2 separate regions of the Homo sapiens genome follow, and region 2 is linked to region 1. Evidence: promoter capture Hi-C in human tissues and cell types (Jung and others, 2019). All regions are on one chromosome and are shown on one strand. Each heading gives the region's core, a stretch centred on a gene start or on the middle of the fragment in contact. The rest is flanking DNA. Distances are from core to core; before and after follow the strand shown. Region 1 holds the start of AGFG2 (ArfGAP with FG repeats 2). Region 2 holds the start of EPHB4 (EPH receptor B4).

What was found. Contacts are between HindIII fragments. The study calls those that stand out against the background at their distance.
Region 2: a contact is called between the fragment with the promoter of EPHB4 here and the fragment with the promoter of AGFG2 in region 1, in 2 of the 25 tissues and cell types used here (IMR-90 fibroblasts and liver).

Annotation. Positions count from the first base shown.
Region 1 is chr7:100,536,726-100,541,548 of GRCh38, forward strand. It overlaps AGFG2 (ArfGAP with FG repeats 2), which reads left to right and starts at 2,478. Exons shown (of 12, transcript NM_006076.5): 1 at 2,478-2,842. The coding sequence starts at 2,622. RefSeq lists an enhancer at 1,828-2,329 and silencers at 2,209-2,488, 2,539-2,838. The HindIII fragment of the contact is 17,077 bases long and covers 1-4,823 here.
Region 2 is chr7:100,825,196-100,830,018 of GRCh38, forward strand. EPHB4 (EPH receptor B4) reads right to left here and starts at 2,328. Exons shown (of 17, transcript NM_004444.5): 1 at 1,784-2,328. The coding sequence starts at 1,835. It also overlaps a transcript of SLC12A9 not described here. RefSeq lists enhancers at 2,332-3,127, 3,924-4,719. The HindIII fragment of the contact is 16,187 bases long and covers 1-4,753 here.

The sequences.
Region 1 (4,823 bases), core at 1,228-3,727:
CTCAAGCCCCAGGAAGTGGAGGTTGCAGTGAGCCAAGATTGTGCCACTGCACTCCAGCCTGGGTGACAGAGTAAGACCCTGTCTCAAAAAGAAAAAAACAAGAGAGAGAGAGAGAAAGCAGGCTGCCAGCCACCAGCCTGGACAACATAGTGAGACCCCTTCTCTACAAAAAATCAAAAATTAGCCAGGCATGGTGGTGTGCGCCTGTAGTCTCAGCTACCCTGGAGACTGAGGTGGGAGGATCACTTGAACTGGGGAGGTTGAGGCTGCAGTGAGGTATGATTGTGCCACTGCCCTCCAACCTGGGCAGCAGAGCAAGACCTTGTCTCAAAAAAAAAAAAAAAAACAAAAAAAACAAAACAAAACAAAAAGAGGCCGGGTGCGGTGACTCACGTCTGTAATCCTAGCACTTTGGGAGGCCAAGGTGGGTGGATCATTTGAAGTCAGGACTTCAAGACCAGCCTGGCCAATATGGTGAAACCCCATCTCTACTAAAAATACAAAAATTAGCTGGACATGGTGGCACGCACCTGTAATCCCAACTACTTGGGAGGCTGAGGCAGGAGAATCGCTTGAACCTGGGAGATGGAGGCTGAGGTGGGCGGATCACTTGAGCCCAGGAGGTCCAGACCAGCCTGGGCAATATAGTGAGACCCAATCTCTACAAAAAATTTTTAAAAATTCGCCAGGCATGGTGGTGCACAGCTGTACTCCCAGCTACTTGGAAGGCTGAGGTGGAAGGATCACTTGAGTCCAGAAGGTTGAGGCTGCAGTGAGCCATGATTGTGTCACTGCACTCCAGCCTGGGTGATAAAGCGAGACCCTGTCTCAAAAAAAAAGTAATTGTTTTAAAAATGGTGACCAACCCAATCTGAAGTACCCAACAGGTGGCCAGGCATTGTGGCTCATGCTTGTAATCCCAGCACTTTGGGACGCCAAGGCGGGAGGCTCACTTGAGGCCATGAGTTTGAGACCAGCCTGGCCAACATGGTGAAATCCTGTCTCTACTAAAAATACAAAAATTGGCCGGGCGCGGTGGCTCACGCCTGTAATCCCAGCACTTTGGGAGGCCAAGACCGGCGGATCACGAGGTCAGAAGATCGAGACCATCCTTGCTAACACGGTGAAACCCCGTCTCCACTGAAAATACAAAAAAATTAGCCAGGCGTGGTGGCGGGTGCCTGTAGTCCCAGCTACTCGGGAGGCTGAGGCAGGAGAATGGCGTGAACCCAGAAGGCGAAGCTTGCAGTGAGCCGAGATCGTGCCACTGCACTCCAGCCTGGGCGACAGAGCGAGACTCCATCTCAAATAATAATAATCATAATAATAAAAATACAAAAATTATCTGGGGGTGGTGGTGGCCGCCTGTAATCCCAGCTACTCAGGAGACTGAGGCATGAGAATTGCTTAAACCCAGGAGGCAGAGGTTGCAGTGAGCTGACATCGTGCCACTGCACTCCAGTCTGGGCAACAGAGTGAGACTCCATCTCAAAAAATTAAAATTAAATTAAAAAATTAAAAAAGTACCCAAAAAGTCTTTTCCAAGATGTGATTTTAATTCTCTGCGTAGGATTTATTACTAACTGGTGATTCTTTAATTTGTGTATTGTTTGCTTCCCCCTACTAGAAACTAAGCTCTATAAGAATATTTTGTTTGATTGCTTCGCTGCTGTATTCTATTCCCAGTGTCTAGAACGTGCCTGAAACCTAGCAGACACTCAGTGTTTGTTAAATGAATAATCGAATAATAGTCCACCTACTAGGAGGGTTAAAGGCAGGGTTTCTAAAGTTGGAAGACCCAGAGTGGAATCCTGGGCCACGCACTCGTGTGATCTGCCGCAAGTTGTTGAACCTAAGGGTGTAAAATGGGGATTCCACCTCTGGGATAGGCGGAGCGAATGAAATGACATTTATAAAGCACTCCCTTCGCTCTGTGGCTCAGGAATTAGAGCACTGGTCTAGTAAAGCACTCTTGCTCCCTCTCCCTCTCTCCCTTAAGCGCTCTCTTCTTTCCCCCTCCTGCTCAGCCCCTCACATGGCCACTTCTCTTCGGCTTTGCATGACACTCTACACAGTCTAGAGTAAGCCTTTGAAATTTGCCGGGAATTAACGTCATCAGTCGGGAGGACGACAGCTACGCACGCGCGGGGCACCTCCTCTGTCTCGCGCGCTAACTTTGCAGCCCCGCCAGCCAATCAAAATTAGCGTCGGAGCCCGAGTGCCGAGGACTCACCAATCGGAACTAGGAGGCGGGCCACGGTGGAGGCAGCGGCGAGAGGGGGCGGGGACAAGGAGAGGGCACGCACGGTTCTCGCTGCTGGGGTCTCTGCCGGCCAATAGGAGAGGCCTGAGGCCTGAAGGCGGTGGGGCGGGGCATTGGCGGCTCCAGCAACCGGAGGCCGTCCCAGGGAGGGCCAATCGGAGTAAGGAGGTGGGAGAAACCTAGCCAATCAGTGTGCAGGACGGGCAAGGAGGGTGGTGGACGGCGAAGTCTCCTGCGGATGCCGCCCGCTCCCGAGCTTCTGTCAGGGGAGCCGGGCGTGCGGAGGCGGCTGAGGAGGCGGGAAGGCGGCAGTGGTTGAAGGGGTGATTGCTGACTAGCGGGGAGGGAGTGGGCAGCGATGGTGATGGCGGCGAAGAAGGGCCCGGGCCCGGGCGGCGGGGTCAGCGGGGGCAAGGCGGAGGCGGAGGCGGCCTCGGAGGTGTGGTGCCGTCGGGTGCGGGAGCTGGGTGGCTGCAGCCAGGCCGGGAACCGCCACTGCTTCGAGTGCGCCCAGCGCGGGGTCACCTACGTGGATATCACCGTGGGCAGCTTCGTGTGCACCACCTGCTCCGGCCTCCTGTGAGTGACCGGGAGGGAGTGGCCGAGGTCGGCGTGGGGGGACCCGGGGGCGGGGTGGGGAGGCCGGGGCTCCGGGGCGCGAGGGAAGGGGGCCGAGGTGAGGGGCGGAGGGGAGGTCAGGGAACGCGCCGGCTGTGGGGACGGGGTCGTCTGCTGCAGCGGTGTGGTGGGGAGGGGAAAGGGCAGGGGAGAGGAAGCAAGGCCGGAGTCGCTCTGCGGAGAGAAGGGTACGGGTGCAGAAAGACGCCCGGAGAGGGACCGAGAAACTCCCCGAGGGGGTCGAGGCAAACTGCAAGTGGGGAGGGAGAAAGTGCGGAGGATGGAAGGGAACTCGGAGTGGGATGGGGTGTCGGGACTTAAAGGGCCAGAAAATGACATGCACCTTTAGAGGGAACTTCATGCAGGTGGAAAGCAAAAAGGAAAAAGGTGGGGAAAGCCGGCCTGGAGATGGACGGGCACCTTTCTTCCTTCGGGCTTGTGTCCCTGCTGGAGTGTGAGATGCAGAAGCCAGCTGAAACTTGGTTGAAATTCCTATGATTAGAGTACAGGATTAAAAAAAAAAAAAAAAGCGAATTAACCCCGATTGACAGCCTAGAGATAGTGGCTGGAAGGGAGCCATGGTCCAGAGTTCAGGTGTAGATACTAATCTTAGCAGGGCTTTGAAATGTTACCCAGAAGGTAAAACTCTTACGAAATCTAAGAGATGAGAGCCAATGGGTTACCCTGGTAGAGAGCTTAGCTTTTTCAAACGTTTGCACGTCTAGGTGAGCCATCCTGAAGGTTAATCATTTACACCTTTAAGATCCCTGTTGCCATGACTGGATCCTGGTGGTAGCATCCAGGAAACTCTAGATTTTGGGGGGGCTTTGGTGCATCATCTGAGTGCTACTCTTGGCATTGGTACTGTTCGGTCATGCCAGAGTGAATTTACAGCCACAATTCTAGCCTAGATTTCTGGTTATATAGTAAAGCCCCCTCCACTCCCCTCTGCACTCCTCCTACTCCCAAATTAAGATATTATTTGGTTAGATGCATGATTAACATCTGATATCAGGCCTGGATCTCTGTTTTTTAATAAGTTTGTCAAGGGATTTATTTTGACAATTTTTTAGTCTTATTTTAAGACACTGTTGTTTTTGTTTTGTTTTTTAAAAAATGCTTTCCAGCCAGGCGCTGTGGCTCACGCCTGTAATCCTAGCACTTTGGGAGGCCGAGGCAGGCAGATCATGAGGTCAAGAGATCGAGACCATCCTGGCCAACATGGTGAAACCCCATCTCTACTAAAAATACAAAAATTACCTGGGTGTGGTGGCGCGCACCTGTACTCCCAGCTACTTGGGAGGCTGAGGCAGGAGAATCACTTGAACCCGGGAGGTGGAGGTTGCAGTGAGCTGAGATTGCGCCACTGCACTTCAGCCTGGCGACAGAGCAAGACACTGTCTCAAAAAAAAAAAAAAAAAAAAAAGCTTTCCCTGTCTTGATACCTTTAGGAGCCAGGGAGCGAGCACTATTGTTCTTGCAAGACAGATGGGAGAACAGAAGCAAAGAGAGGTTTCGTAACTTATCCAGTGCCATATGGGCATTGCGGTTTCCAACATTTGTTGTTTGATATTAGTGATGATCATGGCAGACCAGCAATGAGGATTTAGTTTTCTCAAGATACCGTTTGGAATTATTTACTTCGTTTTAACCTCCTTTGCTAAACTTCTCTCTGGGTTCTGATCAACCTCACTTGTGGGTTGTAAGGATGAACTTGACTTTGGTCTAAGTAAAAGTCATCGTGGCTCTTGGGATAATGATTGAGAACCCAAACAGTAATGTGTCATAAACTGAGATGGACTGAAATGAAGCAAGAGGATAGAGACTCGAGAGTGGGTGAAGAACTCTGGGGAGAGATTGAGCAACGTTTAGGAGTATGTATAGGGGTCGGGCTCGGTGGCTCAGTATGTATAGGAGGCCAAGGTGAGCAGATCACTTGAGG
Region 2 (4,823 bases), core at 1,078-3,577, 290 kb after region 1:
GGTGGGTGAGGCAGCCTCTTCCTGGGGACCAAATGATGTCCTCCAGCTAGGGGTCAGATGGGAAGCCAGCCAGCCTGAGGTGAGAGGCGCAAGGTCCCCATGGGTGGCAAGAGACAGCCCTGCTCACTGGGGACAGGATGCCCGGGTTCTGGGAAGGGGGTGGATAGAGGCTGCCGTCTCCACCCTCCATTGTTCCAGCCGGGATAGTGTTTTCCTGTCTCCAATTTACACACTGTCTCTGCCTCGGGCTGTCCGCAGCCCAGAGCAAGCGCAGGCTCCCTTTCTGCGTCCCAGCTCAGCTGCAGCCACGCTTTGATCTGTCAGTTCGCATGTCTCTCACCTATCTCTCCTCCACTCTCTGTCCACCTCCGTTTCTCTTTCTGACAGTCACTATCTCTCCTTCGCTTTCGGCCTCCACTTCTCGCTGTTCCTCGCGGCACAGGGCCTTGGATAAACTACTTAACCTTAACTAAGCCCCAGCCTCCTCATCTGAAAAATGGGGGCAATAATAGCACCACCCTTAGCGTTGCTGGATGGGTGAAATTAATATTTGTAAGGCGCTCAGCACAGGCCTGGTGCTTGGAAACACTCAGGTAATAGGTGTCACAATCACCATTTCCTCTTTGCGTCTTTCCTTCTCACCACACCTCGTCCTCGTGGTTTTTCCACCCCTTTGGCCTTCCTCTTCCCCTCGTTCATGGTTTTTGTTCCCCCTTCTCCGTTCTCTGAGCTGGGCAAGCCTCCCCTCACTCCCAACCCCACACCTAGCCTTTGATCCCCAGCCCAGGGCAGTCCTGCCCAGCCAGGGGGAGAGGGTTTTTCTAACGCCGCTGAATCCTTCCCTTTGGGAGTCCCTCATAGCCTACCGCCCCATAACCACTTTCATACCAGACAGAGAAAGGGGGGTGTTGGCAGCTCACTGAAAGGACATTAGGGACACAGGAGAGTTTCTAGGGCTCTTGGCTCCCCCTTTAGGGGACCAGGAGGGACAGCGATCCATGGCCAAAGAAATGCTTGGAGAGACCAGGAGGTGGGAGATAGACTGGGTTAGTTAGGGCGATGTGGGGGCTGTGTAGGTCAGTTTCTACCTGGGGGCTGTGTAGGTCAGTTTCTACCCGCTCCTAGGTCTCAAGGGAAGCCCGGGACTCACCTGGGGCCGGGGTCTAGACCGCATTTAAAGGGATGGGGTGCAGCCTGTAGAAACCAAGGAGCCACCCTATACCAGGGGCAGGAGCAGTGGGCGGGAGAGCGGTTTGGGGGTTTGCTGTGTGAATGCAAAGGAGGCCATCCTGTTGCAGGAGTGTGGAACTGGAGGATCAAGGTGTGATCGCTAAGGAATTGGCGCTGGGGGTCGTTTTAGGGCCTAGCACGAAAAGTTGTGCCTTGTCTGCTGTTGCTTCTCCAGAAACCTTCCCTCATGTACGGCGGGAGGTGGGACTGGGACAGAAACTTTGCAGATAGTTTTGAATAGTGGGGTAGGGAGGAAAGGAAAGGCAGCCAGGGGCGTATGTAATCAGCAGTGAGAGTTCGGGGAGCCCGGGCAGGGGAATGTCCCGGGTCGTAGCCAGACTCCATCTCTTTCCCAAACAAAAGAAAACTCCACTACCCGTCGGGCGCCTCTTCCCCGCCCCCCTCCCGTTCCAGCACTATCGGTCCGAAGTGTTTGGGACTGCAGTGCCCGGGTAGGGGTAGTCAGAGGCCGGCCCCTCCACTCCGAGGCCCAGATGTTGGGGGGGAGGTCCCAGGAGTGACGGGGTGCGCCCCCCCCCGCAAGGAAACTCACCTTCCAAAGCTGCGGCCAACGAAGCCCAGCAGAGCAGCACCCGGAGCTCCATGGCGCCGCCTCACTCGGGTAGGATCCGAACTGAGTTTGGGGGGCCCTCGCCCCCCCAGGTCTGACTCTCCCTGGGCGGGTGGACGCCGATACTCCGCGCGGGACTCCTCGTCGGGGCCCTCAGCGCGGGCCCATGCGAGCGTGCGGGGCACCGGGCGGCGGCGCCAAGTGTGGCCCCGCGTCTGTGCCGCGCGCGCGGGCGGCGGGCCCGGAGCGTGCTGGCAGTGGCCGCGCCGGGCGGGCGCGCAGCAAGACGTGGCTGGAGTTGGGGTCCCTCCGGGGCCTCGGGGTCCCGCCCCGGGTGGCGGGGGCTGAGCCGGCCGCTCGCGGTCTCCCCCCCTCCCTGGAGTGGCTCTGCTCGCGCCGCCGGGCCGAGTGCTCTCCTCGCGGGCGGGGATGGTGGGAGCCCGAGCGGGGACGGAGCGGGAGGGAGGGAGACTGCGGCGCGGAGCCGGGCGGGCCGGGCCGGGCAGGGGCTGAGCTGCGCTGGAACTGGGCCGGGCGGCGCCGGGCCCGGGAGGGAGGGGCGCGCGGGGGGCGGGGGCAGCTCTCCCAACGCGGGGGCTCCGCGAGTGAGCCCCGGGCGCGCTGATTGGAGCTCACGCTACTGAATAATTCATGAGGGAAGCGGAGAGGGGCACCGAGTGGAGCAGGTCGGGAAGTTGAGAGAAAGTTTGGAGAAGGGGGAGGGGCGGCGGGTGAGGAACCCCGGGACCGCCCAGATGTGCGCCGTGGCGGTGCGCGCTGTCCAGGACCGAGCATGTCGGGGCTGGGGCCCAGGGACCCCCGGGACAGGCCCGAACCCGGCTGGCACCAGGGAGCAGAGAAAACACACACCCAGCAGCAACACGGAGGGCCGCCCAGGCGTGCACGTAAATGTTCACCGCGCACACAAAGCCCGCTCTGACCTTGCTGCGGACTCTAGATGCCGCTCTTGGATGCGCCCACCACCCTCTAGTGGGCGCAGGGACTGCGTTTTGGGGGAAAAGGAAGGAAAAGGGAGTAGAAGCTTTGGAGAATTGACGGCCGCCCAGGGGGCCTCAAGGAGCAATCCCAGTTTGGATAGCCTTGCAGCGAACGTTCACACAGTCACCCCATAAACATTCAGTGTTGGGGACCTACTGTGCGCGCAACCAAGCCCTGAAAAATGTCCAGAGGAGGCGCGCACTAAGCTGCGCTAGGGAGTAGAGAAAAATCGAGGAAACAACGGTAAAGAAAAGGTGGGTGTGGCGGGCGCGGTGGCTCACGCCTGTAGTCCCAGCATTTTGGGAGGCAGAGGCAGGCGGATCATTTGAGGTCAGGAGTTCAAGACCAGCCTGGCCAACATGATGAAACCCCGTCTCTACTAAAAATACAAAAATTAGCTGGGCATGGTGGCGCGCGCCTGTAATCCTAGCTACTCGGGAGGCTGAGGCAGGAGAATTGCTTGAACCGGGACCTAGGAGGCGGAGGTTGCAGTGAGCTGGGAGCTGAGATCGCGCCACTGCACTCCAGCCTGGGCTACAGAGTGAGACGAAATCTCAAAAAAAAAAAAAAAAAAAAAAAAGGTGGGTGTGTCCGAGAGGGTGAGGGGTCCGGCTAGATCTCCAAATCGCCCTTCTCACTCTCACTCTCGTGTTTTGGGGGGGCTTCCCCGCCGCCCGCAGCCATGACCCCTGAGGCTGGGGCTGCGGCTGCGGCTGCTGTCTTTCCTGAGCTGTTTCCTGTCTGGCTCCTGGGGGCCCTCGGGATGGCTGGGAGGGGCCCTTCCTCTCACTGCCAACTCCCCTCACCCTCCCATCAGTTAGCGGGGAGGGTCCAGCACAGCCGTGCTCCTCCCACCAACCCCCTTCTACTTCAGGGAACTTAACAGTATGGGTTACTGGATAGATGGATTGGAGGGGGTGCTGCTCCAGGAGTCAGCCCCTCCAAGGGGCAGAAGGAAAGGACTTAGACTCCCACAGTAATTAGCGGGGACAGATTTTTTTTTTTTTTTTGAGACAGAGTCTCCCTCTATTTCCCAGGCTGGAGTGCAGTGGCGTGATCTGGGCTCACTGCAACCTCCGCCTCCCAGGTTCAAGCGATTCTCCTGCCTCAGCCTCCCGAGTAGCTGGGATTACAGGCACAGGGCACCAACCCCGGCTAGTTTTCGTATTTTTAGTAGAGACAGGGTTTCGCCATGTTGGCCAGGCTGGTCTCGAACTCCTGACCTAAAGTGATCCACCCACCTTGGCCTCCCAAAGTGCTGGGATTACAGACGTTAGCCACCGCGCCCAGCCGGAGGACAGAATCTTGAGGAGCCCAGCAAGAGAGACGTTGGAGCCCAGCAAGAGAGACGTTGGAGTCCAGGATGCTTGGGGGGCTGCCAAGCGCCCTTACGTCCCAGAAAGGACAGCCGGGCCTGTGATAACCTCTTGTCCCGGCTTACTTATCTTCCTGCTGCAAGAGGTGTTCCCCACACCCCTGCCCTTCCTTGCTGTTCTGCCTGGGTCCTGCGCCCGGGTTGGGGGGGGTGGGCCGGTCACCGAGGGCAGGAAACAGCCGGCTTCACTGGAGCCAGGCAGACCAGGCTGGAGCTGGGAATTCCCTCCTCCCTCCCCGATGCAGGCCCAGTCTCCCCTTCTCTTATTCAGCTTCTCCCTCGGGGTTCTCTGCAACCCTCTCCCAAACCCCTGCCCTGCCTTTTGCCACTCTCACTCTGTACCCAGATCCTGTAGCCTCTAAAAGTTATGTCTTCTGGCTGGGGACAGTAGCTCAGGTCTGTAATCTCAGCATTTTGGGAGGCCGAGGCGGGTGGATCACTTGAGCCCAAGAGTTCGAGACCAGCCTAGCCAACATGGTGAAACCCCTCTCTACTAAAAATACAAAAATCAGCTGGGCATCATGGCACACACCTGTAGTCCCAGCTACTAGGGAGGCTGAGGCACGAGAATCGCTTGAACCCGGGAGGCAGAAGTTGCAGTGAGCAGAGATTGCACCACTGCACTCCAGCCTGGGCAACAGAGCCACA